2 separate regions of the Homo sapiens genome follow, and region 1 is linked to region 2. Evidence: promoter capture Hi-C in human tissues and cell types (Jung and others, 2019). All regions are on one chromosome and are shown on one strand. Each heading gives the region's core, a stretch centred on a gene start or on the middle of the fragment in contact. The rest is flanking DNA. Distances are from core to core; before and after follow the strand shown. Region 1 has its middle 8.7 kb from the start of ARHGDIA. Region 2 holds the start of DCXR (dicarbonyl and L-xylulose reductase).

Region 1 (3,507 bases), core at 910-3,409, 160 kb after region 2:
TGAGGCAGGCAGATCACAAAGTCAGGAGATCGAGACCATCCTGGCTAACATGGTGAAACCCCGTCTCTACTATAAATACAAAAAATTAGCCAGGCGTGGTGGCGGGCCCCTGTAGTCCCAGCTACTGGGGAGGCTGAGGCAGGAGAATGGCGTGAACCCAGGAGGCGGAGCTTGCAGTGAGCCAAGATTGCACCACTGCACTCCAGCCTGGGTGACAGAGCGAGACTGTGTCTCAAAAAAAAAAAGAAACTTGTCTCAAAAGTGCTATGATATTCTTCCTGAAATGGACATTGTAGCATCTCAATATCTTTTTTAAAAAACTAAATTTTTGAAAAATTGTGTTTTGAGACAAGGTCTCCCTCTGATGTCCAGGCTAGAGTGCAGTGGCGCAAACACAGCTCACTGCATCCTGGAACTCCCGGGATCAAGGGATCTCCCACCTCAGCCTCCTTAGTAGCTGGGACTACAGACACCCACCACCGCGCCTGGCTGATTTTTAAAACTTTGTATAGATGGGGTCTCACTATGTTGCCCAGGTTGGTCTTGAACTCTTGTGCTCCAGGGATCCTCCTGCCTTGGTCTCCCAAAGTGTTGGAATTACAGGCCTGAGCCACCACACCGAACATAGCCTATTAATGTCAGCCTATTTCTCTATTTATGAATTTTCTGAAGTGTTATTTTTATATTCAGATTTATAGAAGCTTTTGTCTTTTATGACCTTGACACTTTTAAAGGGTACTCTCAGCTATTTTGTAGAATGTCCCTCACACTGGGGACTCTGACCTTATGACTGGACAAGGTTTTGTTTTTTGTTTTTTTTTTTTTTTTTGAGACGGAGTCTTTCTCTGTCTTCTAAGCTGGAGTGCGGTGGTGTGATCTCAGCTCACTGCAATCTCTGCCTCCCAGGTTCAAGCGATTCTCCTTCCTCAGCCTCCTGAGTAGCTGGGATTTTAGGCACCCGCCACCACACCCGGCTAATTATTGTATTTTTATTAGAGACAAGGTTTCACCATGCTGGCCAGGCTGGTCTTGAACTCCTGACCTCATGATCCATCCGCCTTGGCCTCCCAAAAGTGCTGGGATTACAGGCCTGAGCCACCACGCCCTGCTGGTTTATTTTATTTTTTGGCATGAATACCACAGCTGGGATGTCATCTTCTCAATGCATAGTGGAGATATGCAATGTCAGTCTGTCCAACTCCTGGTCCTGTTAGTTCAGGTGGTGGCAGCGGCTGCCGGGGCTTCTCCCCTACATAGTTACTGTTTTCCCTTTGTCATCCATAAATACCTTGGGGAGATACTTCCAGACTAAGTGAATGTCTGTTTCACTTCCAAGTTTTACCCACTTTTTTTTTTTTTTTTGAGATGGAGTCTCACTTTTGCCGAGGCTGTAGTGCAATGGCGCCATCTCAGCTCACTGCAACCTCCGCCTCCCAGGTTCAAGCAATTCCCCCGTCTCAGCCTCCCAAGTAGCTGGGATTACAGGCACGCGCCACCATGCCCAGGTAATTTTTTTTATTTTTAGTAGAGACGGGGTTTCACCGTGTTGCCCAGGCTGGTCTCCAACTCCTGAGCTCAGGCAGTCCACCTGCCTCAGCCTCCCAAGGTGCTAGGATTACAGGCGTGAGCCACCGTGCCCGGCCTACCCACTAATTAATTTCAGCATCCACTGGTGGGTCTTGCAATGCAGTAATTATTAACTTAGTTTTCAAAGGTGATTTTTGCATTTTCCTCATTCCTTTGACGTTTATTAATTGGAATTCATCTCTAAGAAAGAGCAGTCCCTTCAGCTTTTTTCCCTTTTTTTTTTTTGAGACAGGGTCTTGCTCTGCGGCTCAGGCTGCAGTGCAGTGGCTCGATCACGGCTCACTGCAGCCTCGACCTCCCGGGCTCACGTGATCTCCCATCTCAGCCTCCTGAGTAACCAGAACCACAGGTGCTCACCACCATGCCCAGCTGACTTTTTGTATTTTTTGTAGAGATGGGGTTTACCCATGTTGCTCAGGCTGGTCTCAAATTTTCGAGCTCAAGTGATCCGCCCGCCTTGGCCTCCCAAAAGGCATGAGCCACTGCGCCTGACCTACGATTTCTTTCTTTATATATCAGTATGAACGCAAGGGCTGTTTGTTGGATTCTGTGAGTCATAATCTGATACTGTTTCCACGCTTTGGCCATTGGGAGCTCCTGGAGATTGTCTCCTGTGCCCTATCCTTATTTAAGCACTTGTTTATTTTGGGATGTCTTCAGTTTTCCTTGTCCCAGCTCTGCACCCAGCTGCTTCTCCAGGGAGCCCTCCCTCACTGGAGACTGGGATTTAGCAACCAAGACCTGGGCACTGGCTGTGCTTGTTGCTTCTGGGCCCTCCTGGGACAGAGCTGGGAAGTGGATCTATGACACGTGCTTGTGCATTTACCCGCCCTGTTGGTTTCTGTAGCTGTCTAGTTCCTGCTGTTCCTGTCTCACCTGCCCCTTTCCTTATGTGTAGTTTCTTCCTGTGACAGGGAGAAACCTGGCTCTCAGATTGACAGGACATTCGCTTAGGCCATGTCAGTGCTGTAGGTGAACTGTTCAACCTGTGCCCCAGGGAGGCGCAGTCACTATGGAGGCACCTTACTTCCTTAATCGTGTACTGTTGTTTTTGTGTTTGACCTGTAGCATCTAAGTACTGGTTTCAAAAGTTGCCTAGATGAGTTCTTTTCTTTCTTTCCACCTCCTGCAAATTATGTGATTTGCATAATTTGTACATAGTTAGGTTCATTTGTTAGTTTGTATTCCTTTTGGCTTCCCCCATATCCTCGTTGACTTTTTCTTTCTTTTGTAACTTACATATGTTATGAAATTTATATGAGGATATATAATTTTCATAAATGTTTATGGTTTACATGTATTAGTTGTTATTATTAAGATCACCCTGGGATTGACTGGCCAAGCATTTGGTGGAAGATAGCAATAAATAATACATCATAAAAGACTTTAATGTAAAAATAAAGCCATGAAAGTACCAAGAAATAAATCTTCTCATTTTAATTACATCAGCTTGTCTGTGATCATGTAGCCTAAGGTAGGCCAGAGTTAATTTTTGTGTTATCTATACACGTTATTGAAGCGAATTATAAAATGTTTTAGCATGTTAATTACTTGTAAATTAATATCTACATATAAAAATGTGAGCATATATTCTATTTAGTATATTAATCCTTCATAAACAAGTAATGCAAGTTAGTATTAATGATATCTTAAGACTTAACATTCCTTTTTTAGTTTGTGTTGAATAAATGAACATCTAAGAGTTCATGATGATGCTTAAGGAAAGAAGCCTCATGTTTACCTTTGGAAGTTGTAAGGCACTGACTCATAAAAATTGGCAAATAAAAGGAAAGAATCGGGCATTTAATTTGTCTTTTCTGTATGAACTCTATAATTTTGGGGCAACAATTGATGACGGGGTCCTTTAAAAAAAAAAGAAATAATTCCAGCTAAGAAATACAGAAATAATTAGAAAATCAG
Region 2 (2,601 bases), core at 1-2,500:
CAGCCTCCCACAAGAAGCTGGTGGAGCAGAGTGTTCCCTGACGCCTCCAAGGAAAGGAGACTCCCCTTCGCAGTCTTCTAAGTAACGGGTGGCTTCCCAGACAACGGCATTACTGCTTGACCAAGGAGCCCTCAAGCAGCCCTTATGCGGGAGTGACAGAGGGCTCACCTCTTGCCTTCTAGGTCACTTCTCACAATGTCCCTAGGTTATATTAGTAATGCAACAAAGAGTAATATTAAAAGCTAATGATTAATAATGTTTATACTAATGATTGATAATTATCCATGATCATGATCATTTTTATATCTAATTTGTATTATGACTATTTTTATTTTAACTGTTTTTTTTTTAAAGATGGAGTCTTGCTCTGTCGCCCAGGCTGGAGTGCAGTGGCGCAATCTCGGCTCACTGCAAGCTCCGCCTCCTGGGTTCGCGCCATTCTCCTGCCTCAGCCTCCTGAGTAGCTGGGACTACAGGTGCCCGCCACCGCGCCCGGCTAATTTTTTGTATTTTTAGTAGAGATGGGGTTTCACCGTGTTAGCCAGGATGGTCTCGATCTCCTGACCTCGTGATCCACCCGCCTCGGCCTCCCAAAGTGCTGGGATTACAGGCGTGAGCCACCGCTCCCGGCCTATTTTCTTTGTTATACTGAAACAGTTTGTGTCTTCAGTCTCTTGCCTTGGCATCTAGGTAATCCTTCGCCCACAGATGAAAGCGGAGCTCTGCTGACATTGGTGTCTTCTCCAGACGTAGTTGGTTGTCCAAATTCTTTCCCTTGGCTTTAAAGTGAGCCGGCGGTGTCCTGCTCCCAAGCCTGAGAGATGATGGGCACAGGCGACACTTTTTAGGACATGCCGATGTTTTCAGAAACAAAACAAGAAATGTTAGCCCTGAAATTCTCCATTTCACGTGTTCTTCCTGATATTAACCACACATTCTTTCCGATATTAACCACCACATCGTCTTTTTGCAATAATCTTGGCAGGGAAAAATATGCTAGCCAGGGTCCACTACGTCGATTTCAAGCACGGAAGATGGGTCACACCAGGCACTTCAAAAGACCCGTCCCTGAGGCAGCGGAGACCCCGCCCCGCCCCGGCGCGCCCACTCCTTTCGGCCAATCACTGCAGCGGGGAGCAGCTATTTGAATGTCCCCACCGCCTATCTGAAGGCCGCCCTGCCATTGGCCCCGCCGCGCCCCGCCCATCGTGGCCAGAGCTTCAAGTTCCGCAGCCCCAGTGCGGAGGGCGGAGACTGCGCCGACATGGAGCTGTTCCTCGCGGGCCGCCGGGTGCTGGTCACCGGGGCAGGCAAAGGTGGGCGGCGGGGAAAGGTGGGCAAAGGCCGGCGGCGGGCAGAGGCGGGCAGGGGACGCCTTCACTGAGCCCGCTCCCGGCAGGTATAGGGCGCGGCACGGTCCAGGCGCTGCACGCGACGGGCGCGCGGGTGGTGGCTGTGAGCCGGACTCAGGCGGATCTTGACAGCCTTGTCCGCGAGGTAGGTCCCGCCGGGTCCCAGCGCTGCGAGGCGGCGAGCCAGGAGGGGGCGGCAGCGAGCGGGGGCGGTACCTCTGTGCGCGACTCCGCCTCCCCTCGCGGGCGCTGCGCTTCTCACCGCGGCCTGGGCGCCCGCGCACCCTCTCTCGGGGCTGGTGGCCTGCGTGGGCGGCCGGGTGGTCGGCAGAGCCGCCGGGGCCCCCGGGCTCAGAAAGAGGCCGAAATGGCTGCGAAGCAGGCCCCGGGCAGGAGTCGCTCGGGCGCAGGGAGGAAGTGAACCGGCCGGAGGTAGCGCCCGGCTGCTGGCCCCACAGTCCCGACACCTTCGGAACTCCTAACTCCTTTACTTGTCCGGCTGAAAGGTCACCAGCCCCAGTCCCCAGCTGTGCCGCTTGCTGGGCACAGAGCCTCTGGTAACTGCCCCCTGATACACACAGTGCCCGGGGATAGAACCCGTGTGCGTGGACCTGGGTGACTGGGAGGCCACCGAGCGGGCGCTGGGCAGCGTGGGCCCCGTGGACCTGCTGGTGAACAACGCCGCTGTCGCCCTGCTGCAGCCCTTCCTGGAGGTCACCAAGGAGGCCTTTGACAGGTGAGCCTGTGAGGGCGGAGGAACCTCAGGGAGGGGCTGTCCTGGAGGACGCAGCAGCCCTAATCTCTGACCAGGGTCTGTCCCTCGGCCTCTAGATCCTTTGAGGTGAACCTGCGTGCGGTCATCCAGGTGTCGCAGGTGAGCTGCCCTGTGGGCTGGACGGGAATTCTCGTGAGTGATGCCAGCTCTGCCTCACGGTCTCGCTGCGATTCCAGATTGTGGCCAGGGGCTTAATAGCCCGGGGAGTCCCAGGGGCCATCGTGAATGTCTCCAGCCAGTGCTCCCAGCGGGCAGTAACTAACCATAGCGTCTACTGTGAGTGCCCCAGCTGTGCCCTCAGCCCCACCCCAGCCCCAGCCTCGCCCTCATCACCGACCCCAGCCCCAGCCAGCTTGGGTTCCTCTTCGTAGGCTCCACCAAGGGTGCCCTGGACATGCTGACCAAGGTGATGGCCCTAGAGCTCGGGCCCCACAAGGTGAGCAGGGCTGGGGTACCTCCCCCAACCTAGGACAC

Evidence for each region. The method cuts DNA at HindIII sites, captures the fragments that hold promoters and counts their contacts. A contact is called where the count stands out against the background at its distance.
Region 1: a fragment that was not itself captured here is called in contact with the fragment with the promoter of DCXR in region 2 in 1 of the 25 tissues and cell types used here (spleen).

Annotation. Positions count from the first base shown.
Region 1 is chr17:81,878,310-81,881,816 of GRCh38, reverse strand. No RefSeq gene overlaps it. Among named protein-coding and RNA genes, the nearest start is that of ARHGDIA, 8.7 kb to the right of the region's middle. The HindIII fragment of the contact is 8,262 bases long and covers 1-3,507 here.
Region 2 is chr17:82,036,346-82,038,946 of GRCh38, reverse strand. It overlaps DCXR (dicarbonyl and L-xylulose reductase), which reads left to right and starts at 1,250. Exons shown (of 8, transcript NM_016286.4): 1 at 1,250-1,316; 2 at 1,400-1,497; 3 at 1,934-2,088; 4 at 2,184-2,226; 5 at 2,304-2,403; 6 at 2,499-2,563. The coding sequence starts at 1,265. It overlaps DCXR-DT (DCXR divergent transcript), which reads right to left and starts at 1,029. Exons shown (of 2, transcript NR_159948.1): 1 at 679-1,029. RefSeq lists a silencer at 1,030-1,859. The HindIII fragment of the contact is 8,854 bases long and covers 1-2,601 here.